Linked DNA regions of Homo sapiens: regions 2, 3, 4, 5 and 6 are each linked to region 1. The links are contacts of gene promoters, found by promoter capture Hi-C in blood cells and fetal thymus (Javierre and others, 2016). All regions are on one chromosome and are shown on one strand. The core of a region is centred on a gene start or on the middle of the fragment in contact, and the rest is flanking DNA. Distances in the headings are between cores, read along the strand shown. Region 1 holds the start of CXCL8 (C-X-C motif chemokine ligand 8). Region 2 has its middle 44 kb from the start of PF4. Region 3 has its middle 52 kb from the start of CXCL1. Region 4 has its middle 32 kb from the start of CXCL1. Region 5 overlaps RASSF6 (Ras association domain family member 6). Region 6 holds the start of CXCL1 (C-X-C motif chemokine ligand 1).

Evidence for each region. The method cuts DNA at HindIII sites, captures the fragments that hold promoters and counts their contacts. A CHiCAGO score of 5 or more calls a contact.
Region 2: a contact is called between a fragment that was not itself captured here and the fragment with the promoter of CXCL8 in region 1, in 1 of 17 cell types (neutrophils). The highest score is 5.3, in neutrophils.
Region 3: a contact is called between a fragment that was not itself captured here and the fragment with the promoter of CXCL8 in region 1, in 4 of 17 cell types (megakaryocytes, neutrophils, endothelial precursors and 1 more). The highest score is 14.8, in megakaryocytes.
Region 4: a contact is called between a fragment that was not itself captured here and the fragment with the promoter of CXCL8 in region 1, in 4 of 17 cell types (megakaryocytes, neutrophils, M1 macrophages and 1 more). The highest score is 9.8, in megakaryocytes.
Region 5: a fragment that was not itself captured here is called in contact with the fragment with the promoter of CXCL8 in region 1 in 1 of 17 cell types (megakaryocytes); the score reaches 5.6 in megakaryocytes.
Region 6: a contact is called between a fragment that was not itself captured here and the fragment with the promoter of CXCL8 in region 1, in 4 of 17 cell types (neutrophils, megakaryocytes, endothelial precursors and 1 more). The highest score is 15.4, in neutrophils.

What each region holds. Positions count from the first base shown.
Region 1 is chr4:73,738,202-73,742,863 of GRCh38, reverse strand. CXCL8 (C-X-C motif chemokine ligand 8) reads right to left here and starts at 2,295. Exons shown (of 4, transcript NM_000584.4): 1 at 2,142-2,295; 2 at 1,187-1,322; 3 at 832-915; 4 at 1-415. The coding sequence starts at 2,205. The coding sequence ends at 400. RefSeq lists a silencer at 3,538-3,832. The HindIII fragment of the contact is 2,023 bases long and covers 2,267-4,289 here.
Region 2 is chr4:73,935,222-73,939,883 of GRCh38, reverse strand. It overlaps the pseudogene HNRNPA1P55. Among named protein-coding and RNA genes, the nearest start is that of PF4, 44 kb to the left of the region's middle. The HindIII fragment of the contact is 2,446 bases long and covers 1,334-3,779 here.
Region 3 is chr4:73,918,897-73,923,558 of GRCh38, reverse strand. No RefSeq gene overlaps it. Among named protein-coding and RNA genes, the nearest start is that of CXCL1, 52 kb to the right of the region's middle. The HindIII fragment of the contact is 501 bases long and covers 2,357-2,857 here.
Region 4 is chr4:73,899,110-73,903,771 of GRCh38, reverse strand. No RefSeq gene overlaps it. Among named protein-coding and RNA genes, the nearest start is that of CXCL1, 32 kb to the right of the region's middle. The HindIII fragment of the contact is 802 bases long and covers 2,214-3,015 here.
Region 5 is chr4:73,573,748-73,578,409 of GRCh38, reverse strand. RASSF6 (Ras association domain family member 6) reads left to right here. Exons shown (of 11, transcript NM_177532.5): 9 at 1,679-1,797; 10 at 1,903-2,000; 11 at 2,100-4,662. The coding sequence ends at 2,175. Among named protein-coding and RNA genes, the nearest start is that of RASSF6, 44 kb to the left of the region's middle. The HindIII fragment of the contact is 213 bases long and covers 2,187-2,399 here.
Region 6 is chr4:73,867,808-73,872,469 of GRCh38, reverse strand. It overlaps CXCL1 (C-X-C motif chemokine ligand 1), which reads right to left and starts at 3,077. Exons shown (of 4, transcript NM_001511.4): 1 at 2,900-3,077; 2 at 2,678-2,801; 3 at 2,481-2,564; 4 at 1,162-1,949. The coding sequence starts at 2,999. The coding sequence ends at 1,934. The HindIII fragment of the contact is 416 bases long and covers 2,125-2,540 here.

The sequences.
Region 1 (4,662 bases), core at 1,046-3,545:
TCCCATCATTTTTATGTGATGCTTCAAATATCACATTCTAGCAAACCCATTCAATTCCTGAAATTAAAGTTCGGATATTCTCTTGGCCCTTGGCCTCAATTTTGCTATTTGTATATTCTCCCGTGCAATATCTAGGAAAATCCTTATATTTAAAAATTATTTGTTGTTTTTTGTAGATTCAAATAAATAATACTTTACATATAAGTATGTTCTGGATATTTCATGGTACAATGAAAAACTATTCATTGTTTACTGAAATTCAAATTTAACCAGGAATCTTGTATTGCATCTGGCAACCCTACAACAGACCCACACAATACATGAAGTGTTGAAGTAGATTTGCTTGAAGTTTCACTGGCATCTTCACTGATTCTTGGATACCACAGAGAATGAATTTTTTTATGAATTCTCAGCCCTAAAATAAAATTAAAAATATAAAGATGAGCTATGTTTAATAAGAAGGAAAGTAGGGTTCTTGAAAAGTCAATATAGTCTTTGACATTCATGTGTTAGAAATGCTCTATATTCTCAACTATAAATAGGGAGATCAAAGAAATTATCATCTAAAATAGGACACTACTGGGAGTGACAAAGAACTTTACTAAGAGTATAGGACACAAGCTTAAACCCAGAATTTCCTGGGCAAACTATGTATGGTCTTTCTGGTCATGAGTACAACAAACTCACTATTGATGCTATTCCTTTTTTTTTTAACCAAAAAGGCAGATACCTAATGACGATTTTTAGCAACAGAAAGAAATTTATAGGCTGACTTTGGATTATATGTCTCAGGATAAATGAAAAATTTAAATTAAAAAATATATAACTTACCTCTTCAAAAACTTCTCCACAACCCTCTGCACCCAGTTTTCCTTGGGGTCCAGACAGAGCTCTCTTCCATCAGAAAGCTTTACACTGAAATAAGAAAGAAATGGTTCAGATTAATATTTAGTTTTTGCATTCAAATCATGATTCCTTAAGTCAGGCATAAAGTCTAAGTCCAAAATAACATTTATAGTAGTTGTGGAAGCTACCATATTTAAATGTCATGTAGACAAATATTTTTATTTTGTTTTGTTTCATTTACTACTGTAATCCTAACACCTGGAACTTTCCTAAATATTTCCACCTTCCTTAATTTTAAGTTTGCTAAAACAAAATATCTAATCTTTTTTAAAGTACTTACATAATTTCTGTGTTGGCGCAGTGTGGTCCACTCTCAATCACTCTCAGTTCTTTGATAAATTTGGGGTGGAAAGGTTTGGAGTATGTCTTTATGCACTGACATCTAAGTTCTTTAGCACTCCTTGGCAAAACTGCACCTGTTGGGGGAAAAAGTGATTAAGGATTGATTTTATCAACAGGCACAGCTCTGCCAGCTACTTCCTTTCTAATTCCAATATGATTATTTGGAGACTATGGAAGGCATCATGTTTCTAGTGAACTCATTCCTGAATATTCTCCTAGCCCTTGACCTCAGTTAGTTCTTTGTTTTAAAAAACAGTCATAACTGACAACATTGAACGACTTCCTATATAAAGAGTTAGAGTTCTTTTTGTACAATATCAACATCTTCATGGTATTTTTATCTGGTCAATATTGCATAATCCTCTGTGATACCACAGTGTTATTTATAGTAGGCAAGCTAAGACTCTCCAGCATAGAAATTGCCTTCAGAAAGAATTAACAGAAATATATAAATAAGTTATACATGCCTGGTCTATAATCAGGGTATCTTTAAACCAGACAGGAATTAATGACAAATCTGAGGCTTGTCAATGAAATACTACAAGGAGTGGAATTGTCTGAGTTACCTTGCTCAACTCAATATTAATACATAATATAGGTAACCGTGGTTCTCAATAGGACATACTATAAATTACTTATTTACGTTAAATATATGCATGCTACATGGTATAAATTATAAAAGCAGAATATCTATATTGATCAAACTTTATACTTTCCTAAGTGTTATATATAGTTTTTTCTAAATCTTCAATTTAACATTAATTGACTGCTAAGATTATATTCTGTTTCTGAATAAAAAGGATGTTTGTTACCAAAGCATCAAGAATAGCTTTGCTATCTAAGGATCACATTTAGACATAGGAAAACGCTGTAGGTCAGAAAGATGTGCTTACCTTCACACAGAGCTGCAGAAATCAGGAAGGCTGCCAAGAGAGCCACGGCCAGCTTGGAAGTCATGTTTACACACAGTGAGATGGTTCCTTCCGGTGGTTTCTTCCTGGCTCTTGTCCTAGAAGCTTGTGTGCTCTGCTGTCTCTGAAAGTTTGTGCCTTATGGAGTGCTCCGGTGGCTTTTTATATCATCACCCTACTAGAGAACTTATGCACCCTCATCTTTTCATTATGTCAGAGGAAATTCCACGATTTGCAACTGATGGCCCATCCCCTCAGGGCAAACCTGAGTCATCACACTTCCTATTTGTTCCTTATCAAATACGGAGTATGACGAAAGTTTTCTTTGATCTTTAAAATAATTTAATTTTAATATACATTTAAAATACTGAAGCTCCACAATTTGGTGAATTATCAATTGTATGCTTTTTTATTTCTAGATAACTTTATCATAGTACCATGTGACAGATATAGTACTAGAGTGGCAGGTGTTAGAACAAGATCATGGATGATTTTCTTTTAATGGCATAATTATTTTTTTTCAGTTAATTACAGATGCTATCATGATGGTGAAGATAAGCCAGCCAATCATTTTATTGGGGAGGTAATTTAAAATAAATCTTTTTCTAAGCATTTTAGAGAGTTTCTAGGAACTGTTACTGCTCTTAGGGGGCATACTACAACTTTTCAAAAGATTTAGTTTTCTAATGCATGTTAACAGAGTGAAGGGGCACATGTGCTTCACATAGAAATCAGTTCCACAAACATTTATGGAGTAACTTTCTGAGTAATGTGGGGGATCTAGAAATAGATAAGACTAGGTACTTGTCCTTAAAGAGTTTGGTCTATCAGAAGAAGAAAGCAATGTAAGGACTGACTATATAGCAGAATAGACAAGTGGTACTAAGACATTAATTCCAGTGGAGGCATAAGAGCAGAATCTTCCAAAGGCAGTTGGAGCAAGGCATTGAGGAATAGGAGGGCTTCAATAGAGGAAGATGAAAGAGAACAGCACATTCCAGATAGGAACAGTATTCAAGGCCACTCAAGTTGTAAAGTTAAGGTATGTTTATGCTCCAGAAAGTGGTGCACTGGAGCTGCTTGGTTGGGGTGGGAGGGAGGTGTTATCTAATGGAAAGTTGTATGCTTAGTGGAAAGAGCATCTGGGTTCCAACTCTGGTTCAGCCACTGTTGCTTCATGCTCTTTATCCAAGGACACCAAGTCTGACCTCTGAGGACCCATGATCACTAGCAAAAGGGATGGAGTGAGAAATTTCAACAAATCATAAAAAGGTGGCTTTATGTCCTAGTGTCCTGAAGAAAAGAATCCAAGACCTTTCTTGAAAGGTCTTGGATTCTGTAGATAAAGAGCACCAAGGAAGGGTTCTTATGATAGTAAAAGTCTGTTCGCTTCTGGGCAAGTACATAATTTATAAATAATTCACCTTGGTGTAACAGTTCTTCATTTTCAGAAAGTACGACAGAGCAGTGAATTTGCCCACACTGTGAACACACTGTGGAGGGGGAATGCCATTTTCAAATGCTTTCCAAAAAGGTTTGTCTGTTTCTGCACAATCATGTTTCTTTTTGTTATCTTTCTCCAACCAACCTAAGACTTGAGGATAAAATAATGCCTGGGTTACACTGAATTCTATAGCAAAGTAAATGTTTATTCTATATAATGTAGCTCCTATAGTTTTCAACTGTAGTATTTCAGAAACTTCATTATTCATTTAATATGTGTTGTTTATCTGCTAATGTCCCTTATTGTAGGAGATGTGAATGCTATGTAAATAGATATAGTACCTGACTTAAAGGACTTTGTTGTCTAGTGCAGAATATGGAAAATTAGTTACACAAGTAAGTAAAATACAGTGATGAGTGTTACAATAACAGGTAATTACAGGAAGTTCTGGAATCAAACAAACATGATCTTTGAGGCAGTTTTGATGAATGAAGGTTTTCTGAAGAAACAACATCAAAAGTGTTACCTTTATTGTTAATGAGGAGAAGAAAGACCAATGGGACTGCTTTGCTAGTACAGGACAGGAAGTACAGGACAATGAAATGTAGGCGAACATGGCCCATTTGGGTTTCTCAAACTATTTAGCATACGGAACACAGTGCATGGAGTGACAAGAAGAGAAAGCTTGGGCCGGATAGGTAAAAAAGACCTATATCTTAAAGAAAACTCCAAGTTTCTTTGCTTCAGTGATGTTGGCATGTTTAGCAAAGACACATTCTCATATGGACACAACCTGGCTTGACTGATTCAGTTCACTATCATTAAGACTCACTCATACAGCATCACTAAGACATTCAGAGTTCTGAGGATGTGCAAAGACTTCTTTGCTTTTCCCTAACGGTTGCCTTTGTATTTATGGTGAGCCCAACTTACATAGACACCTCGTTTTCCTCCTTATTTTCATGTCACTATATCTCCCTCTCATTCTCTTCTCATGGGCCCAACTTTATCCTGATATCATCCTTAAAGTTTGAGCTAATGAGGTCTACTTAACCTTGA
Region 2 (4,662 bases), core at 1,307-3,806, 200 kb before region 1:
CGGAGTATTTAATGTGATTTAAAAATTTGTATTGTCCTTAGAGCAGCTGGAAGATTATGGTTATGCAGTAAGTTATTTGAAACAAACCTGAGAATCTGATAATCTTGGAATTTAAAGAGTCTAGAATTCATTACAAATTAAATCTATTAAATCTATTATCAATCTGGTATTGGGTCAACATTCTTAAAATAGATACCTGTATTTGAAAACCTAATCACAATCTTTTTGACAAATTCAACAATAACTGCCATTAACTCCTAAATCAGCCTGTGGATGCCACCAAAGAAGCAGCATTAAAGTCTCTCTTCTCCCTGCTGTTACATCTAAGTCAGAGTCTCCTAAAGAACCCGAACAGCTGAGGAAGCTCTTCATTGGAGGGTTGAGCTTTGAAACAACTGATGAGAGCCTAAGGAGCCATTTTGAGCAAAGGAGAACGCTCACGGACTGTGCGGTAATGAGAGATCCAAACACAAAGTGCTCCAAGGGCTTTGGGTTCGTCACATATGCCACTATGGAGGAGGTGGATGCAGCCATGAATGCAAGGCCATGCAAGGAGGATGGAAGAGTTATAAAACCAAAGAGAGCTGTCTAAGGGAAGATTCTCAAAGACCAGGTGCCCACTTATCTGTGAAAAAGATATTTGTTGGTGGCATTAAAGAAGACACTGAAGAACATCACCTAAGAGATTATTTTGAACAGTATGAGAAAATTGAAGTGATTGAAATCATGACTGACTGAGGCAGTGGCAAGAAAAGAGGCTTTGCCTTTGTAACCTTTGACGACCATGACTCCGTGGATAAGACTGTCATTCAGAAATACCACACTGTGAATGGCCACAGCTGTGAAGCTAGGAAAGCCCTGTCAAAGCAAGAGGTGGCTAGTGCTTCCTCTAGCCAAAGAGGCGAAGTGGTTCTGGAAACTTTGGTGGTGGTCATGGAGGTGGTTTCGGTGGAAATGACAACTTTGGTCATGGAGAAAACTTCAGGGGTCATAGTAGCTTTGGTGGCAGCCACGGTGGTAGTGGATATGGTGGCAGTGGGGATGACTATAGTGGATTTGGTAATGATGGAAGCAATTTTGGAGGTGGTGGAAGCTACAATGATTTTGGCAATTACAGCAATCAGTCTTCAAATTTTGGACCCATGAAGGGAGGAAACTTTGGAGGTGGAAGCTCTGACCCCTATGGGGGTGGAGGCCAATACTTGGCCAAACCACAAAACCAAGGTGGCTATGGCGGTTCCAGTAGCAGCAGTAGCTATGGCAATGGCAGAAGATTTTAATTAGGGAACAAAGCTTAGCTGGAGAGGAGAGCCAGAGAAGTGACAGGGAAGCTTCAGGTTATAACAGATTTGTGAACTCAGTCAAGCACAGTGGTGGCAAGGTCTAGCTGCTACAAAGAAGACATGTTTTAGACAAATACTCATGTGTATGGGCAAAAATAGGACTGTATTTGTGACTAACTGTATAACAGGTTATTTTAGTTTCTGTTCTGTGCAAAGTGTAAAGCATTCCAACAAAGGGTTTTAATGTAGATTTTTTTTTGCACCCATGCTGTTGATTGCTAAATGTAATAGTCTGATCATGACGCTGAATAAATGTCTTTTTTTTAAAAAAAATCCTAAATTAATGTGAAGTTAGATAATATTTTTTAAGACACTTTTATCTCATGTTTGTATACTTATTTTCTATTATCATCATGATAGCACTGATAACACACAATTTGATCATTTCTACCTTGTGCATAGAGAATAATGACTCAAAGAGATTAAGATAGTGTCTGATCCTGGCTAACATGGTGAAACTCTGCCTCTATTAAAAATACAAGAAATTAGCCAGGCGTGGTGGCAGGTGCCTGTAGTCCCTTGGGAGACTGAGGCAGGAGGATGGCTTGAAACCGGGAGACGGAGCTTGCAGTGAGCTGAGATTGCTCCATTGCACCCCAGCCTGGGCGACAGAGTGACTCTGTCTCAAAAACAAAACAAAACAAAAGATAGTGTCTGAATAGTGTTTCTGATTCATTGAGTTTTTGCTTGACATAAAGACCAAGAAGTCAGCAATCAGTGGAATGTTAAAAAGTCATTCAATCATATTGTATGTTGAGACTTTTCTTTCATATGCCATTTTCTGTCTCAAAACTTTACCTCTTGGAGTATGCTTCTGTTTGCAATGTCCTTCAGGTTTTTCTCTGTATGCTGAGCTTTTATGCATTTTTTTTGATACAACTCAGTGATATCTTCCACGTGAAAGCAAATGAGATACTCTGATTTTTGAAGCTATGTATAAAGTGGCACTGTATCTACAATTCTATTAATTATTGCTTTAAAGGGTTTGATATGTTGATAAAGGAAAAAATGCATTCAGTATAATGTAACCAAGGTCATTTAACAGAATAATAAACAGAATTTGAGTTCATACTCCATTTTTAGTAATTCAGTTTTAAGAGCTGTGAAGCTGAATATACTGCTCCTGACTGCAATAAGTTAATTTATTCTGAATTCTATTTCCTTAATAGCCTATCAATAGATGGAAGATTCCATTAATACCTTAAATATGATCATTCAAATTGACATAAAATGAAAACATAAGTTAAAGCATATTAATTTCCTGCTTAGTACTAACTTGGATTTTAAAAAGATACAGACTTTTTTATGACAGCACATTTTAAATAATTATTAACTGCAGATGTCATTGGATCCTTCAAAATTGCATAGTTCCACCTCCAGGAAATAAAAAGGCAAACAGTTCATATCTTTATCAACAGATTTATTACATTCTACACTTCCCATTCCTCCCAAATAAAACAAACTGGAAAACTAAATTCTACTTTCTTATTGGCTTGTAACTGACAAACATCACTTTGATAAGTTTCTCCTTTCATTCTTCAACAAAAAGGGAGAAGACAACAAAATTGCTCTTGAGATTGTGGTGGCTGAGAAACACTATAGTCCTGAGTCTACCAAGGTCTGAAATCAGAAATGTCTACTGAGATCTCACATTCTTTGGCTATCTGCCCTTACAAAGTTTGTCCTTTTCTTTCATCCATTTAACATTACATAAAAGAGAAACCAGGTCTAAAGAGATGTTTTTTGGCTTTAAGCAAAACAAAAGCTGTGAAATATCTAAAATTAAACTAGGACATGCATGCAGTTTGTCAAGTGTCAAAGAAGCCCAGATAGAGGCAGAACAAATTTATTTAACTTGAAATTCTGATTAAAGGGTCTGTACTTCTCTTTCTGAAGGGTAAAGGGGAGATGATGGTAGTAATATTATTTCAAGTCAATCTAGGGTGTTTATTTTAATATTAGTTAGCAGATGGAATTATTACATTCAACTGAAATCTTACATCAAATTATACCGATAAATTTTCGCTGGACTCAAGCAGTTCTTTTATACTTATGTAGTTATGGTTTTGATTACAATTACAACCTTAAGGAGTGGATATTTGCTCTTTTATGCCTAACACTATTTCATAGTAGCAGCTCAATAAATTCATATTGATTATGATATTGGCAAATAATTGGTATTCTGTGATTTCTCCATGACTATTTCTATTAATGTTGAATTCTTAATCCAATATTGTGGCCAGCTACATTGATTTGAAATAGTAAATTAAGGGTTAGGCAATATGGCTGTCTTTATCTTCATTCAGATTTTTCTGTACTTACCTCACATAGCTGATGCTTCTGAGAGCTAAGAGTTGCAATATCAATATATTTGGAATATGATTTTTTAAATTTTTTTCTATACTCATTAAAAATGTCCAGTTGATACTTGAAGCTTCTTGCTGTAGCTGAAAAGAAATAATGTAAGTAGGAATTATGAGGGGAAAGTAATAGTCTCTAGTAGTAGTTTTCAGAGATGAAGTTCTTGCAAAATTTACCAGACTAACAATATAGGAGACAAGGGTTTGGGCATTATTCTTACATGGTGAAGGAAAAAAATCACTATCTTCAAGATTCTATTCTAGTAACTTCTTCTTCTTCAAAAAAAAGTATCTGACATTGGAGCATGAGTAAGGCATAAACTGAAATGTGTAGATTGATTTTTGAAGTCAATGAACATCTATAATAAGCAATGACACATACTAGCATTAAAAATACTTTGATAATGCTAGATTATTGGGAAGTCTTTTATATACTTGGACAAAGAACATTCAAAAGTTGCAATATAATGTAGCAGGTTTAAAAAGTTTTTTAAGTTGCACAATATGTCATAGATGTATAAGATTGTATAGAAACATATACTATATAAAAACATGAATAGATGTTTTATATAAATAATATTTAATATTAAAGATTGTATAAAACATGTATATGCATATGTATACTATTTGCATGTGTGCCTATATACATATATACACACAGACAAAGGTTTAGGAAGAGTAACAAAATAAACCACTATGCCCATTTCCATGTTTAAGATATGAACATTAGCAGGATACTGGAAGTACTCTCTGTACCCATTCCAAATCTCATCTTTCTCCTTTCCTGTCACACTCCTTGCACCTTAACCCTTAACTTGAACTCAGTGTCAGTCATTCCCACTTATTGTAGTGCTTAACATCTATAAGTAAAATCCTAAACAATTGATTATTAATTTTATTTGTTTTGAACTTTGGAAAAATGAGCTGATGCTACACAGATATGACCTAATTTTGTCATT
Region 3 (4,662 bases), core at 1,358-3,857, 180 kb before region 1:
ACTTTTCTAAGTCTGTCACAAGGTGGCCCCAAATCCATATTCTTCATGGCTCTGCATTTGTGGAAAATGAATCAAACAGCAAAAAGAAGGTAATACAGCAAAAATCTAAGGTAATAATAATCCAGTGTATACATAGCCCACTTAATAATCAATTGTCCACTTGGCTAAAAGAAGAGAGAAAAGCAATCTTATTACATTTGAAATGAGGAAGGAAGCTGATAAATGCATCAAGGCATTTTTCTTCAAGATTAGTCTCAACAAAAGTAATAAATAATCCTTTTGACATTCAGTATTTCGATGAGCACACAGGCTAGTAATATGCAGGCTTGGCTGAGAAAAATCTGTGATCTTTACCTTTTCCCTCTTTTCTATTAACAATTATTTAGTTTTTGACCTTGCCTGAGTACTTGTAAAACAGTTTCAGAACTGTCTTCTTTTTTCTGTTCTACTTGCCATACAAAGAAAAACTGTAGATTATAAATCATGTAAGATCCTGTCAGGAAAGCCTCTGATTAAAAGTCTTATACAAAATCATGACTAATTAATTCATTTCTTCTTCCTTCCTCTTATCTCAGAATCCTTGAAGTCTTAAGATGGCACCACAAAAATTTCTTTTCAGACAGTGAGAAATTCTTTCAAGGCTGGGTAACACAATGCTAGAAAAAATGCCTGGCTATTGACTGCAACTGATAGACAATATTTGAATAAATAGTAAAACAATTAGTACAGAAGATTGATATTTTAGTTTAACTTAATTGTGGTATAGCTTGGACAAGTCACTTCAAGATAATAATATTTTATTCTTGTGGTTTTTTGAGAATTAAGTGAGATAGCAGGTACGGTTCTGAATACTGTTCCTGGCACATGGAAGAAACTTAATGCTACTTTTGGCCATTGTCAATGCTTTCATTCAGAATACAATGGAATAATGAAAATAATTACTTGTCAATGGAAAGAGCTAAACATATCCCTGCTTATATTCTCAACTGATTCTGAATTGGGCTTCATATACCAGCTCTAAATGGTATCTTCCAAATCTGTTTGTTTTTGTGAAGGAAAGGGTAGTCAGAAGTGATAGACAGCCTGACTTATCTTGAAACAGCACAGCCTGGAATTTAGTAGGGTGTTCTGAGTATACCTTAGCAAAAAATATAGAAAACTATGATTTTTGAGTGAGTTCATAGATTTTTAAAAGTAAATGAGAGAGGCTTGATTTGATTGTGCACTGTCTACTATGAATTTTATATTTGTCTCAGGGAAAGGAAGCAGAAATGGCACAATTGTTGAACTTAGTAATCTTCAAAAAAGTCTCTTCTGCTTCTGCCTGGTAAATAAGAAGGTAAAGGGCCGGGCGCGGTGGCTCACGCCTGTAATCCCAGCACTTTGGGAGGCCGAGGCGGGTGGATCATGAGATCAGGAGATCGAGACCATCCTGGCTAACAAGGTGAAACCCCGTCTCTACTAAAAATACAAAAAATTAGCCGGGCGCGGTGGCGGGCGCCTGTAGTCCCAGCTACTCGGGAGGCTGAGGCAGGAGAATGGCGTGAACCCGGGACGCGGAGCTTGCAGTGAGCCGAGATTGCGCCACTGCAGTCCGCAGTCCGGCCTGGGCGACAGAGCGAGACTCCGTCTCAAAAAAAAAAAAAAAAAAAAAAAAAAAAGAAGGTAAAATTAGACAATCTAATTGTAGTGTAGATAAATCACAATTCATAATCAATTCTGACTCATTATGCTCAGAATTTCCAGCACATTATTTAGCACAAATTATTAAGATTCTATTGCCTATTCATTTATGGCAAGGATTTTTACAACTAGCCATCAAGACCAAGGTCTTAGACAACATTTGTAACACTAAATGTAGAATGCAGGTCTCCATGCATTTTAAAGAAAAATGTTTAATGCTTATTTTCCAAGATAAATGTGTTATTAAGACATGGAAACATTCATCAAGAATGTTGTTTATAACTGAAACATTTCAAGGTGGATCCAAATGCAGTATTTATACCTGACCTTTTGAAACTTGCCAAAAGCTACATTATACTTTTAAAGACTAAAGATTGAAAAAAGAGTGCCAAAAGTGATTAGTTATATACGTACATACACACATACATACCATGCATACCAATATACATATACACTAGATACTCTGCTAAATAATTTTTATATATTATTGCATCTAATTTTAACATTGATTTTATAGTACAAGTACTATTATTATCCCTATTATCTTAGATGAGGAAATCAAGACTTGATATGCTAGATTAGTCTTGTCTGAAATATTTGCCAATATACTATTTGATTATGAAATAATTGATATATGCAAAAGAAACTTACCAAAGATGTAAAGAATAAAGCTTAATAAAAGGCATAATAAAAACAAACACCCATGCATATCGTGAACATTGGAACTAGACTTTTACCAATATTATTGAATCTTATGTGCTTTTCCACTATTCTGTCCCTCTGCCTCCAACCAGAGTTAATTACAATCCTAAATTTTGATATATTCTTTGAGTAAGAAGTGTAGCTATTTTCTAAAACCATCCTAATTATTGATTTATTTGTGGCACTTATTTAGCATTCATAAAACTACATGGATGTTTTGGCAGTCATAGATTTAATACAAATACTGTTAACATAATTCCTGGATTTTATACTTTCTCTTAGAATTTAGCAGCTGGCATGGTGGTTTTAATTTAGTAGTTAATCACGATTTTATAACATTCATTTACTTAGTACTGAATCATAAAAAAATATTGAATTTGGCATTATTGAAACATTTTAGTTTTCCTAAAATTGACCAAAAGTTCAGATAAATATCGAAATATTTTAGTTTTCCTACAATTTTCCAAAAGCTTGGATTGAACAAGGGTAACATCAAATATGTTTTTCCATAAATTTTTGCCACTTTATTATGTTGTCAATGGGAATGTTGAAAACCAGTAAACCCAAAAAACTTTTTCTGCTATTTATATCTCAGAACCAGCAGATTGTAGAAATCTCTTTCAGCTTTTACTTTGGTTACTCTTGCAATATGCCTGCTATTTGCAGGCACTGGCATATTATATGATTCAATATTTTCCATTTGAATTGTTGATAAAATTGAAAAGATGGCCCTTATCAATCCCGGATCAAACATTTATTGAACATCTACTAAGTGCTAGAAAATACTCAAAGTTGGATCTTCTAATATGAAAAGAAAAACTCCAGGAAGTCAGGACACAAAATTAAAAAGACATACATGAATCTGCCCATTTTAAAATTAATTTAATAAAGCACTTACAAAAACAAATGGAATTCAGGACATAATGAAGTCTTAAAGGAGTTTTTGTAGGCATTGTGATTGTCTGGGATTCTGGATCATGATTCTTTGTATCAGGAAGCTACTGCATTGAGCAGGTGTCAGTAGAGTAGTGAATGCTGGGCACCTGCATGTTACTCTTTCCCATGTCATCCCTTATAGCCGAGAATGTCCATATGCTGATTTATACAAGTATACAGTCCTTCGATGAAGGCTTGAGAGCAACTGAAGGGAAAATGTGAGGCGAGCCTGGAATAGCTTTTTATTCCAGAAGGTAAGGGAGTGCTCAGAAACTCAGAAACAGGAGTCAGCTTGAAGGAATGCTCCTCTTGGGGAAGAGGAGATGTGAGTGAATAGGTTAGGAGACTGAGGAAGTTAGCCAAGTAGATATCTGGTGGAAGGGGATTCCAGGCAAAATAAATAGCCACAAAATAGAAGCACAGCTGCTGTGGGTTTAAGGAACAGTAAAGAGCCCATGGTGGCTGGGGTGAGTGAGCAAGGGAAACAACACTGTTGAAAATGCTATCAAGGAGGGAATAGGGAGCCTCGGGAGGTAAGGCCTGTGACCCATCTCTAAGGATTTGGATGTTAACTCAGAGTGAGAGGAGAACCAATGGGGGATTTTGAACAGAGCAGAATCATAGTTTGACTTACATTTTGTAAAGATTGCACTGGCAAGTGTGTTAAGAATAGACATAGAAGAGCTTAAAGATACCAGTTAGGAGCCTTTTGCAATGATTCAGGTGACTGAAGATGGTGGCTCAACCCAGGGGGGTAGCAGTGAAAGTGGTTATGAAGGTAGAACCAACAAGATTTTTTGTTGGATTGGATGTAGAGTGTGGGAGAAAGAGAAGAGTTGAGGATGACTTTTAAGTTGGCCTATAATAATATTTTAGGCAACAGATACATAGATAGAGAAAACAGAGCTGGAGTGGTCAGGTTGGATCCAAAAGAAATTGAGAAATGAAATTTATTAGAATTGGAGATAAAATTTTTATCTTAAATTTAAGTTCAGGTATTTACCAGTTTAGGAAAAACCTTATAAAACATTCTACCTTTATTTTTAAAGCCTCCCAAAATCAATCGCCTCCTGCAAGTAAACTTGAAGTAGCTGTCTCATTTCTCTCGCTCTGAATCATCAATTTCTTCTGTGCATTTATTAATGTCTTACATAGTACTTATAAAAGATAAGTATTAGAGGATATAAATCCTAATGTTTTAAATATTTTTGTTGGTAAGTATGAAAGACAGGGAAAATGAGCTCAAGAACTCCTTGGTGTGTGTGTGCGAGTGCATGTGTGTTTAGTAATATATAGTTTTTTTCTTTTCTAGTTCCTTTTAATTGGTCTCTTTTTCTCTTT
Region 4 (4,662 bases), core at 1,365-3,864, 160 kb before region 1:
GACAGGACATGGTAATAACCAATCAGAAATGGTTAGGGACTAAATTAGTGGCCTTAAGAAATTTGCTTAATTTCTTTTAACTTCATTTTACTCATTTGAAAATGGAAATAATAATAATTCCCTCATAGGGTGGTTGTGAACATTAGCGCAATGTAAGGAAAAGTTATCTTTATACTGCAACATGCTATATAAAAATGTTAGTTATTAGTGTACTCTAGCACTTGGTGTTTCTGCTATTTTGGGATTAAATTGCCCTATGTAAACTATGTGGGAAACTAAGTGTTACTTGTCAAGTCTCAATAGAGGAAGATGCATTGTGTAGCAAGAAGGGACTGCAGTTGATCAAGAAGAATGCCCCCATCTGTGGTGTTGCCAGCCAGCCATTTGGACAACAGAAATATTTCTTTACTACCTCCCCTCCCTTTCCCAGCTGTAGTAACTGCTGTTTCCCAGAAAGCAATATGTCTAGTCTCATGCCTCTGGTGGATCCATATATCATGTATACCATATTATCTTCCTTATTTTCATAATTACCTGGACTCTATTCTCTGGTTGTTTCATGCACATTGTTAAATAAAAAAATGTATTTAGTGATACCTGTTAAAGCACCGTATGGCAAACATTATTCGAGACCATCACAATAGGTTTGGTCACCATAGAGACCATGGCAGTGTGATTTTTCAGAGGGGAAAGAGATTGAGCTCAACTTCAAATACAGCAGGAGCAAGTGAGAATTTATAGCCAAGGTGCAAGGTGGGGGTCAGTGGATGGAAAATTACTGAGAGGAAACGTCAGGCACCAGGGGGATTCTGGCCTAGACTGACCTGATAGAATTGTTGCTGAAGACAGACCAGAGTGATTAGACACTACCTGGGGTCTGGAAAAGGATGGGGTAGTTCTTGCTAACCTGATTTAGCAGGCTTCTTTGCTAATACTAGATTTTACAAGGCTATTCACAGATGGGCTTAGGAGATGGTAGAGGAGCTGACTAAAGTTTAGTCAAGCAAAGAATCTTTGTCGATATGAGATTTGTTTCTTTCATTAATTCTAACATGGGTGAAGGTGAGAGTTGTTATTTTACCTCTGCAGGCTCAGAGAACCCAGTTTGTCTCTAGCCACAAAATGCTAAATAGTGAACAAGAGAGCACTTCCTCTAACTTAGGTAAAGAGAATGCTCTTGTATAGCTAGAAGGTGAAACTGAGCTTTTCTTTTCAAGGGTTATTATTTAGATTAGAGTCAGAAGGGAAGGCAGTAAGATTCAAACCACATTGAGGAGTGGTAAGGGCTAGATAAAAGATCTATGAGCAATAGCCAAGCCTGAAGATACTTAAGAAGCAAGTCACTTGATAGAAGTTGTGAATAGGATAAGTTTCTCCAGAAACGGAAAAGTGTCATGTATCAGAAGTTCAGGAAAATAGAATTTTAAAAACTTGGGATGACAATGAAATCTAGTAGAAAAATTATTTTAAAGAAAGTAATTTTAGGTTAATTCTACACTAAATAAATCTAAGAAATGAGATCAGTCAAGCAGACTCATCTTACTTGCCTGACTCATCTTATTTGTCATCTGTACCATCTGTAATAGACAATTGCCTCAACTCTCCTTAAAGTGTGCTGACCAGCTAAAAACTTAAATCACAATTGTAATAGCTAATATCTTTAAATATTTAATATGTCCCAAGATTCTATTTCATCTGCTTTGTAAAGGTTATGATAATACTTAATCATTGCATTAGTGTAATGATTTGGGAACTATCAAGGAAAAGGTGGCTCAGAATTTTTTCTTTTTTTTTGAGAGAGTCTAGCTCTGTCGCCCAGGGGCTAGAGTGCAGTGGCACAATCTCAGCTCACTGCAACCTCCGATTCCCAGGTTCAAACGATTATCCTGTCTCAGCCTCCTGAGTAGCTGGGAGTACAGGCACCCTCCATCATGCACGGCTAAATTTTGTATTTTTTAGTAGAGATGGGGTTTCACCATGTTGACCAGGCTGGTCTTGAAATTCTGACCACAGGTGATCCACCCGCCTCGGCCTCCCAAAGTGCTGGGATTACAGGCATGAGCCACTGCGCCCAGCTGGAACTTTTAAATGACTTACTCAAGGCTATAACAGCTCACAAATGGTGGAGCCAGGGTTTGAACTCAGCAATCACTATTCCTAAACCAGTTTTCTTAAAAACTATGTCATCAAGACTCCCAGATATGAAGAAAGCTTGTTCACTTAGGTGGTCAAATTCTGTGTGTTTTGATGTGAAAAAAGAAAATCCCTCTCTCCACATTAATGCATATCCTGTCCCCTGCCAAGCCTACTATAATCATCCCTTGTATTTTCAGCCCTCACTGCCTCTCTGTTGGATGGTCCTTCTCTCCTTAATTTTTCATGTTCTATCCAGTTGGAAAAGTTGCACAATGGCTCACACGCTCATCAGCGGTCTGTGGCTAATTTTGGTTAGCTGTTAGTCGGGGGTCAAACAGCAAGAGGTTTGGCAAGTGAAGGGATTGGGTTAGTTTGGTTTTGTCCTTCTCGGCCTGAACCCACAACTCATGATTCACAACAGTGCTTCTCTGTTTTCAATCTTCTGCTTGCAACTAAAATGGGATTCTCATCAGTCTTGGTTAGACTAGATATGCCCAGGTTGAGGTTGCATGTGACTTTTTAATCTCTCAGAGCAGATGTGAGAGAGAGTTAGAGAAAAAAAAAGGCATGTGTGAGGAGGGGGGCATTCAACTTCTATTACGTGTTTACTGTGTTCCAGTCTAGGTTCTTTATGCAAATTATTTCAGGTAATCTTCACAGCAACATTTTACTGTGGGAAGCATTATAATTGTCTCAAGAGGAAACAGGTGCTCCTAAATTTTAGAAAAAATATGCCCAAATTTACACTGCTTTGAAGTGACAGAATAAAAATTTATATCAGTTTTACCTGGTTATAATGTCTGTGTTTTTTGTACTACATCAATGTTGCGATAAAGGACAAAACTAATTCAGAGGTAAAAAATTATAGAATTTCAAGCTTTTAGAATAAATCCTTTTTGATAATGAAAATTCTCATCTTGTGAGTGATCAGTAGATGCTAGGCTCTTTGCTGAGCACTTTGCATGTATTGTGTAATTTAATTCCTCACAATTCTATAAAATAGGCACTGTTATTATTTCTAATTTACAGAGAAAAAAAAGGGTTAGAACAATTAAGAAACAATTTATCTGCGATTGGGCACGAGATAATCTGTTTCCAGGTCCCTTGTTCCTGTATCTACACTGCCCTTTTTAGCCTAGCTCAAACTAGATGTTTCTGTTTTCTTAATTTGTTTCCATTTCTCTCCAAGGTATATATATATATATATATGTGTGTGTGTGTGTGTGTGTGTGTGTGTGTGTAAACGTTTATGTATCCCTATTAAATGTCAAACATTATTTTAAACTCTTGACATGAATTACTCAATTTAATGCTCACAACAGTTCTATGAAATAGCTATCATTATCATTCCTATTTAATGATGAGAAAGTTAAGGCACAGGGTGGGTAAACCAATTGCTCAACATCACACAGGCATCAGGGGCAGGATTTACTCTGGAAACCCTGCATCTATGCTTATAAGTTCAGCTGCCACTTAACTGTGTATGCTGCCTCCAGGGCACTCTTTCTGAAACTCAGATCCAGTCACATCTATCCCCTCTTAAGGATCTGCACTAGTTTCCCATTATTTATTAAACAAATTCAAATATATGTTGCTTGACATTTGAGGTTCTTCACAATTTGTCTCTCTTTTAACATTCTATTTTCATTTATCTATTGATTAGCTACTTCACCCACTCTGGACTATTTGCCACCCCTAAACTAGCCAATCACACTGAGCTATTTATGACTTTTCTCATAGACTGTGTATTAGTTCATTCTCATGCTGCTAATAAAGACATACCTGAGACTGGATAATTTATAAAGGAAAGAGGTTTAATGAACCTACAGTGCCACATGACTGTGGAGGCCTCACAATCATGGCAGAAGGCAAAGAGTGAGGCACATCTTACATAGCAGCAGGCAAGAGAGTGTGTGCAAGGGAACTCCCATTTATAAAACCATCAGATCTCATGAGACTTATTCACTATCATGAGAATAGCACAGGAAAGATCCACCCCCATGATTCAATTACCTCTCATTGGGTCCCTCCCATGATACACAGGAATATGGGAGCTACGATTCAAGATGAGATTTGGGTGGAGACACAGCCAAACCATATCAGACCGGAAGGTTCTTCTTTGTTTATAAAATCAATATTCAAGTTCTCTCAGATGGCTCTGTTCCCACAACCTTTCCCCATTCTCTTGGCAGAGAACAGTCCCCACCTTCTTCAGCACTTATTTATATGCAGATAATATCACATCTTTCTCTCTATTTTGCACTAAACTGTGATGTTTGCTCCCCTCCGATCCACAATAGACTCTGAATCTCTTGAGATCAAGGGCTGTGTTTCATGAACATCCTCAAAGTGCCTGAAATTTAGTGCAGGTTGTTGATATTCGATGAACATTGCTGAATGAATGAGAATACAAGTAAGTGAATGAAAGTATTAACCATGTTTTTATCTCTAAGGGGGAAAAAAGTACAAGTTCTAAGTGTTTATTGAACTAAACTAACTTTTAGGGTATATAAAATTTATATATAT
Region 5 (4,662 bases), core at 1,044-3,543, 160 kb after region 1:
AAGCAGTTTTATTAAGAAGTCTTAAATGATTGTGTGATAACTTGAACAGCTAGGTTGTACAAGATTTGAAAATTCCCTCTTTGGTGTTCTCCAAGACTTGGATTCCATTCACATGCACCTCGTTCTTTCCTCACACCTCTAACTTTAGCCTGCAGTTGAGCAGAAATATGGCTTAGTTTCCTTCCAGTCATTCTTGGGCTCCACACAAGGTGCTGGACCTATGAACGAACAAGCGTGTTGTTTTTATAAGAAAAAAATGTCTATTTTCATTATAAAAAATGTAGTTCTTTATAATTTCACCTATAAAAATCCCATTTTCTTTTATATTTTGTGTCAAAATTTTGCATATATCCATAACTGCAGATAATAATAACTAGGTCAGAAGAGAGCATATGGCTCCTGTTTGGGCAGTAATCTGGAAAACAGAGATAGGTGGGTTTTAACTTTATATCTACAAAGCCCATTACAGTGTATCTCACACTGTAGTTCATTTCAGATTACCTATAGAGTTCACTTAAAATACAGATTCCCAAGTCCTTCCAGATCAGGGGACAACTCTAGGAATATGCATTTTTAATAATCATCATCATAATTTTTTAATCATTATTTTTAATAATCATCCCATAAAGCAGAATCATGAAGCAAGAGGATGCTAAGCCAAGTTAACATTGGACCTGAAGGTCAAAAGAGGATTCTGGTGGGTGGATGAGAGGAGCTAAGTTGTCAAGGCTCCCAACTGCTTCAGAAATGGCAGAGGAATTAGAACAGTAAACACTGACACTATGTGAACAGGAATGGGTAATATCACTTTAATTGTGGGGAGGCTGGGCTTTTGAGTTCTAGACTCTCTCTTGACTCTTTTCCTGGGATAAGTCCAGCTCAGGGAATGAGAACAGTTCTCACTGTTCTGAAGAAAGTAAGCAAGGTGAAGGAGAGAATGAGGAAATAAGATGAATATAAGGACACTATGTTTTGTTCATGCTTTATTCTGATAAAAATGAAATCCCAGATGTGAAACTACTTTGACAGAAAGCTATAAGTACTTTTGTAGCAGGAGTATTTATATTATAACTTTTGGAAATTTGAAGTTCTGGAAACACACCAGATTGGAAGATATTTTCTTTCTCTATCTCATTTTCATGGCTGAATGGATTAAGCCCAGATGAATGAATAATAAGAATATTATTGATCTCAAAAACCTCATGAATATATTTTTAAAGATGAGCCAAGAATTGGGTGTGGAGCGAGACAAAGGAAGAATTGAAAATAATTACATGGTTTTGGACCTGAAGAACCAGAAAGATGGAATTACATCAACTCAACTTGGAAAGAACCAATAAATATTTGTTGTATGGATGAAGGAATGGTGGAATGAAACCTAAATAATTATTGAGGCATATTGCTTTATAAAAGGCCTATCAGACCGGAGATTTGTTTGAACACTCTAATCAAAGGAAGGCTGAGTTCTTTGAGACATTAATCAAAACTTGAGATACAGTAAGAGAAAGAAGTTCATTTAAGTTTTAATTTCAATTTGCTTTTTTGAGTAATTGCCTCCTGTTGCAGGTGTTATTTTTTTCAAAGTGAGTTAAATACGAAAAATAAATTGGAAAATTATCTTCCTTCTTTTCCTGCAGCATGAACTTCTGATTGTGGTTGATTCTTGTTTTCACTGCAGAACAAAGACGACTAAAGAAGACAGACATTCCGCTACTGCAGAGGCTCCTACAGGGACCTTCTGAAAAGAATGCTCGCATTTTCCTCATGGATAAAGATGCAGAAGAAATTAGCAGTGATGTATGAATACCATCACCCTGAATCTGTTTTTTGCTTCCCTCCTGACTCAGCACCTCTTGCATAATTGTTCTGCTTTCTTTTTTTTTTCTTCTTCTTCTTTCTTAGGTGGCTCAGTACATTAACTTTCACTTTTCTCTCTTGGAATCCATTCTTCAAAGATTAAATGAAGAAGAGAAAAGAGAGATTCAAAGAATAGTAACAAAGTAAGTCAAGAGCATGCACATTGGATACTCCGTTCTTTAATATGTCCAATGCACAAAATATGTCCAATTTTTAATAGTCTTTCTTCTTCTCATTTTCAGATTCAATAAAGAAAAGGCGATTATACTGAAATGTCTTCAAAATAAACTAGTAATAAAAACAGAGACAACAGTTTAGCAGTACAAGCTTCTATTGCTAAAACATTTCAAAAAACTCAGAGATATTACTCTTTGATGAATGCATAAGTTCTGTACTTGCATTTATACGAACATATATGAGACTTGAATCGTAGAAAATTGAATGTCAAAAAAAGCTCATTTCTTTTTGAAGTGATGAGGTTAATTAGGGTTCACAGTTGGACAAAATGAGTTTGAGTTTAGTTTCAGTAACTGAAATAAGCTTGAATACTGCATATGCCAAATAGCTTTTATAGTAAACCATGTAATGAACTCAAATTTAAATGGTGTCTTCAGATAAGCAGTTTAAACTTCATTTAGCTTGGACTCTCAAGAGAACTGAAACATAATCAATGGATTCAGAAATGACTCAGAAAAAAGAAGCTGCCAGTTCTTGGAATGAAAAAGAAATACAGTCTTACACCATCAAGGAATCTACCTGATAGTGACAGTAGCTTCTTGAAAACTCTGGCATTTTCATAAAATCTAGGACTATCTTAAATGGCCTGTTGACTTCTGACTATCTGTAACATCAGAGCTGTCTGGCCTTTGGAAAGGAAAAATTATGGACTCTGTTAAGAAATCCTAATTGAAATTTTCTGAACCTCCCCCCAGCCCTTTTATTCTCTCTCTTCTGCTGATGAAAGACCTTTCATCAGTTCAAAGCTTTTCTTAAGCTCTTTTTTAAGTTAATTGAACTTTTTCTTTATTTATTTTTCAAAAAAATGTTTATATCACATAGACATATTACATCGGCTAAAGTAAGACTTGGCCCACAAATACCTATTTGTTGCTGAATGAATACAATGGATAAAGCAAGGCTGTTGTAGCTGAAGTTACATAGGGAATCCCAAACTCTGCCCTCTTAGCATCTTATTCTACATGACAACTCTCAAGGTACTCACAGATCTGTTTAACCCACTTGAAAAAAAAACACTAAAAATGAAGAAATGCTATAAGTATAAACTATGATTTTATTTATAAATTCTGTATTAAAATGGAATTATATGCAACATTCTTTCATTCTGTAAACTAATTCCATTTGCATTCCTCATAAGCATTGTAGTAAATTGATCATATTACATGTACTAAGGAATGAGATTATATGCAGTAAACCCAACTGGAAGATTAACAATATTAAAATATGAAACATTTTTAAGACAAAGGCATTACTTCTCAGTATTACCAAACCTAAACTGGTTGAAGGTGAAAGTGTGCTATGGCCTTTTCAAGCCTAAGAAGTCTCTCTTACTGAGTAAACCAGAGGCTTGCATCGCTATTCTTTCACCTGTCAATATTAATAAGAAAATAGTCTCATCTCACTTAAATGAGGCAAATGTAATAGTTAAAATTCAACATACTTATAAAAAACTAGTGTCATGTACCTGCCATGAACATGACAAAAGGTTAGTCTTCAATAGACTGAAATGTATAAGAGAAGAACCAAGTCTTACATAGAAAAAAAAGGTAGATATGAAAAGAAAAATCACAGAAGAGAGAATGCAAATGGCCACTAAGTATATGAAAAAAGTCGTATCTTAACAGTGAACAACTGTGTTAGTCTGTATCAATCAGAAGACAGAAACAAGGTAGTAATTTAAACAGGGAAAGTTTAATATAAATAATAATTAAGCTATGATAGGAGAATAATAATAAAGATGAAAAGAGAAGGTACCCTAAGGCTGAGGGAAAGAATCCTAACAAGGAAAGGCAGGAATGAGGGTTTCAGAATTCACTGGAGAAGGTGTGGTTGCAGCCCACTGGAGAGAAGTTTGCTGGCTTGCCCAGGCCAGAGCAGGACCACAGATACTGGACAAGCTGGTACAGCCAACCCCCTAGGTGTGGACCAGCTGAGGCAGGTGGGCAGATATGCAGAGGGACTTGGGGCTTTGCCAAAGGGTAAGCACAAAGAAGGAGTCACGGGTTCTGTTCGAGGCACTGTTGGGATTAGGAGCCGGAGGGACCTACTTTGCAGGAACCTAGCATAACTTTGTGTGACGAGACTGCACAAGACAAAGCTCAGGCAAGTGGCTCAGTAGTTGGCCAGCCCAGCAGGGTCCTCTGTATGAGTGTGCACCCAGCTGAAGAGAAGAAATGGAGAGCAGCAATTGGAGCTTCAGGACCGGCTTGCACTGTGGCTCCAGGTTATACCACCACTGCCCAAAGCAAAAGCTAGAGAAGCAAGTGGAGAAATGCTGGAGAAAGCTGCACCCTACAGGCAACCAGCACTGCAGAAACCACTCCAGGCAAAGTAGTGAAGGAAAAAAGCCTGCTCTCCAGTAGCCTGGCCTGTCAGCCTGGAGGAATCAGGAAAGACCCCTTCCTCTTGCAGTGTGTCTCCAGCGCCCTCTACTGACAAAGTATGCCATCATGCAAGCTGCAAAGGAAACATTTCAAGAGTCTATATCTATTTTCACGGAGCGGGCAACCAACAGTGAATGTGGAGCTGAGAGACAGTAAAATAATAACTGACATGCCACCGAAGTAC
Region 6 (4,662 bases), core at 1,083-3,582, 130 kb before region 1:
TGAACCCTTGGATGCTACTTGTAAACATTTTCCAGTGTCCTCTAACTTGGGGTTAGGGAGTGAATGCTACCATTTATGGAGTTTCTCAAATGGTTTGCATTTATTTGCTTATGTATAGTTTACAAATATTCTTCTTCCTCATCTCATTCATAATTAACTAATAATGTTGGAATTATGAAGAGATTCTTGTTTTTAACTTTTTTAGTTGTGAGAAAAGCTCACAGAGTTTGTTTCTTGTTGCTTATGACCTCTATTTGCCCAGCTTCTTGGGATGATCCAGAATTTGATTTGAAGTATTGAGGCTGCCAGTCTCACCTTCTTGCCTCTGTTAGAGGCAGTTACCCAGGGCTCAGGATTTCTGAATGAGTTCTGAATCAGAAACAAGCACACACCTCATGCATGCACGAACATCCTTCCTTTTCAGGTTTGGAGTGTGGTTTCTTTTATATTATTGGGGTATTTCTTCCTTAGACATGCCAATTTTGCTTCTGTCCTAAAAACCTGTAGTGCTGCTGCTGTTCTGGGACAGCATTGAATACAGAGTTCCCCAGAAGGCAACCGCTCTATGAGGTCCCATCAAAATTCCACTAGGAACGATGCAAATGAATGCAGTCCAATCTTAAAACCATTATAGTTGGTATATTGCTATAAAGGATTGAAACACCGCAAATCTTAGTGCTAATTACTTATATGTGAAGGCTAGAAAGCTGAGCCCAAATTTCAATCAGATCTTTTCACAGGTGAAGCATTCAGCCACTCACTTTTGCTTCTATTGACGACACAAATGATTTGAGTTTTGAAAAACGAAATATTTTAGCCACCATTTCACTGCCAGCTTCATTAAATTGTCAACAATTATGAGAAATATTGTTCAACAAAAGCAATGAAATGAGAGCCCTTGTTAAGATAATATAAATATTTTTAAGGAGGTAAATTTGAGTAGCAAGACAGAAAGAAACTTCTTATAAAAAGGGCAATTTATATCAGTGACTCTCCCATTAGGGGCCAGCCCATAGTTTAGTAAAGCGCATTCTTCACTAGGTGAGAGCCAAGGGTATTGGCAGCAATCACCGCATGAAATGAAGCATAACTCATAGTTTGATTTATCTGTATAGCAAATTGAACACCCAGAAAAATAAACACAATTAAAAAATTGAGAAATATTGATATAAATCACCAGATTTTCCAGTAAAGGTAGCCCTTGTTTCCCCCCAAAAATCAAACGAGTTTTTTCTATAAGTGCTTTATTTTTATATTCTCTATGAAAACATCAATAATTAAGCCCCTTTGTTCTAAGCCAGAAACACTGTAAAACTACCATTAAACAAGGCAGTATGCCTTACAAGAAAGACATAAAATGTCCAAGGGATATTTAGAACATTTTAGTTCTTAAAGTTTCAACATGAGAAATGTTGACCACACACTGTGAAATCATTTCAATAAATAACAACTGACATTCATCTAAACAGTTACAAAACAGATGTGCACATACATTCCCCTGCCTTCACAATGATCTCATTGGCCATTTGCTTGGATCCGCCAGCCTCTATCACAGTGGCTGGCATGTTGCAGGCTCCTCAGAAATATTAACATAATGACTGGAGAACATTTGAAAACATTCTACCTTCAAATTAAATATGAATCCAGATTGAACTAACTTGGGGTTGACATTTCAAAAAGAATGAATATAATAGGACAGTGTGCAGGTAGAGTTAATCATACCCTTAATTATTTTACACCTAAAATATTAACATAGAATCTTCAAAACTAATGAATAAATAAATAAATAGAAGACTTCTCCTAAGCGATGCTCAAACACATTAGGCACAATCCAGGTGGCCTCTGCAGCTGTGTCTCTCTTTCCTCTTCTGTTCCTATAAGGGCAGGGCCTCCTTCAGGAACAGCCACCAGTGAGCTTCCTCCTCCCTTCTGGTCAGTTGGATTTGTCACTGCAATGAGAAAATGGGTGCCCTGAGTAGGTGCTCGGGAAAGCTGATTGCACAACACTCTTCTCCTGCCCTGCTCCTCCAGCCTCTAGAGTTTTCCGAATGCAGTTTCCCCAGCCTGGCAACCAAGTGGCTACTGCCTATGACAGCTGTGCTGTGTGGCAGGGACCTCTAAGCTTGGGATGCTCTTTTAGGAATGGGGGTGGGGTGGGGCGGTGGTCTCCACTGTACTATTGGATTAAAAACAGCCAGAACCTGTTGCTGTTTGTCCTACTGGGCCTCAAATGAAGGCAGTTTTACCTACATTCATTGGAACGAAGGAAGAACCAGGGTGGGGACGCCAGGCATTGGGAATATCCTCTGGCACCAGAGCAGTAATTATCGTAAAGGAAACCTTAATTGTGAAAACAATAATCCCAATTTCTAGTCCTTCAACTAACCCCTGGGTTTTCCTGATTTTATTTTTAGGGGGCACATGCCAGTATTTCTGACCAACGGCTCCAGTCGCCTGTGTACATGGAAACCATAACTCACCTGTTCAGCATCTTTTCGATGATTTTCTTAACTATGGGGGATGCAGGATTGAGGCAAGCTTTCCGCCCATTCTTGAGTGTGGCTCTGCAGAGGGAAGGGAATCTCGTGAGGCAGGAGGTCGGGCTGGGGACAGGGTTGGGGCAGCAGGAGGGTCTGGGACCCCGGCGGTGGCAGAGGCAGCGCGGGGCGGGACTTACATGACTTCGGTTTGGGCGCAGTGGGGTCCGGGGGACTTCACGTTCACACTTTGGATGTTCTTGGGGTGAATTCCCTGCAGGGTCTGCAAGCACTGGCAGCGCAGTTCAGTGGCCACGGACGCTCCTAGGGAAGAAGAGACTCACTGACTGAGCGAGGCTGTCGGCGCTGGGTGCCTACCCCAGCCGCGTCCGGCCCGGGGACCCCAGGGCGCCGGTACCCACCTGCTGCGCGCCGGCCAGCGGCTACCAGGAGCAGGAGCAGCAGTGCCACTCGCAGGAGCCGGGGATTGCTGGGGGCGGCGGAGAGAGCAGCGCGGGCCATGGGGCTCAGCAGGCGGGTCTGGCGGCTGTGAGAGGAGCGGAAGAGCTGGCGAGGAGGTGCCTGCGGCCCGGGCTCTGTGGCTCTCCGAGATCCGCGAACCCCTTTTATGCATGGTTGGGGCTGGAAAGCCCGGAGCCCCCGGGCCAGGGAAATTCCCGGAGTTCCAGATCGATCCCGAGTCCGGAAGGAAGGCGACGGCCCCGCCCCCAGGGTGGAGCGCTTGGGGTGCGGGTGGGGTGTGGGGGTCCACTGATGCAGCCCGCGCCTCGCCCTTCAGAGTAACTCCTGTGGACTCTGAGACTCTGGGATATTCGCCTTCTGCCCCAGATCCCTGGAGGGGGGCTGAGTGGCAGCCTGCGCTGAAGATACCACCTGAGAGGTGGGATCTTGGGTGCCTGGTGATCCCAGTGTGTGGGGCTGGGAACGGAGAAGGAGCTGGGGCGGATCCCTGAGAACCACCACAGAGAAGGCGCGACCTCTTTGGAGGAAGAGCGTTGTGTCTCGGATTTGTGGCTGGAGATTGAGAGAAATTAACAAGGTGCTGGGAGATAGGCTGGAGCTATATTATCCTCTCTGCCTCAGCCTTTCTTATTTTCAGTTTAGCCTATTTCACGTACATCTAACATCAGTGCTGTCTGTGAAAGTACAGTCCATTATGTCAGATTCCAGAGAAGAATGTTCTGCTTGTTCCTTGTGTTGCATATTCTCTAACCACACTTAGAATATCTTGTTTACGTTTTCCATTTGGTGGCAACAGATTATCAGTGTCAAAAGCTGAATCCAGTGTTAGCGTCAGTGGAAGCCAGGGCTGTATAACATGAACTCTTCTTTCATATCCTGCTTATCTTCCTTCTTCCCTGTAAAATGTTGGAACTTTCAAAATCCCCTGGAAATCTTTTCCCTGTAGGAGGGGTTCAGGTTTGATCTAGAAATACGGCACTGGTTGTCACTCCGGACCTCGGAGGGGCTGGGTCCAGCAGGCTCATGGGCTCACCATTCCTGGTTCTGTCTTTGGACTGCATAGCACATGACACCAGGGAGTGGGTACCTGGTGTGCAAGCACCCTTCCCACTGAAGCAGCAGACATGCATTCGGATGAAATAGGAACGCCGGATCCCACATAGAGTCACATTCCATTTACTATAGGACTTCCTGGTATTCAGTATTGGGCCCCCTTTCTAGAGAAACACACACATGTTGTTTTCTCTCAGGAATTTCAGTCATTTAACCTGGTAGCTTTATTACTTTTTTCTCCAGAAGTTCTAGAGAACTTATTTTTATTCATCATTAGGTTTTTAGAGGGTTTAAGTGTGATTCTCCAAGTGGGATTCAGAGCTCTCTGAGACATGGAGTAAGATGGGAGGAGGGGGAAAAAGCAGAGGCTTCTGCCCCAGGGGCAGATGTCTCCACAACAGAGTTCTACACAGCCCAGCTCAATAGGTAAGACCTGTGTTCCTAGCCAAGCAGAGAACACAGGCAAGGCTGCCACCTGCATTTAGTAGTGAAGCATCGCCTGCAGATTGTTTAGCCTCTCCGTTTCTACCCCAAGGTGGTTATGAGAAATGAGTCAACATTTGTAAGAGCCAGCATGGATTTAAGTGCCTTATAAATGTTTGTTAAATATTTGTTTAAAAAAAAAATGGAAATAGCGTTTTCCAACATT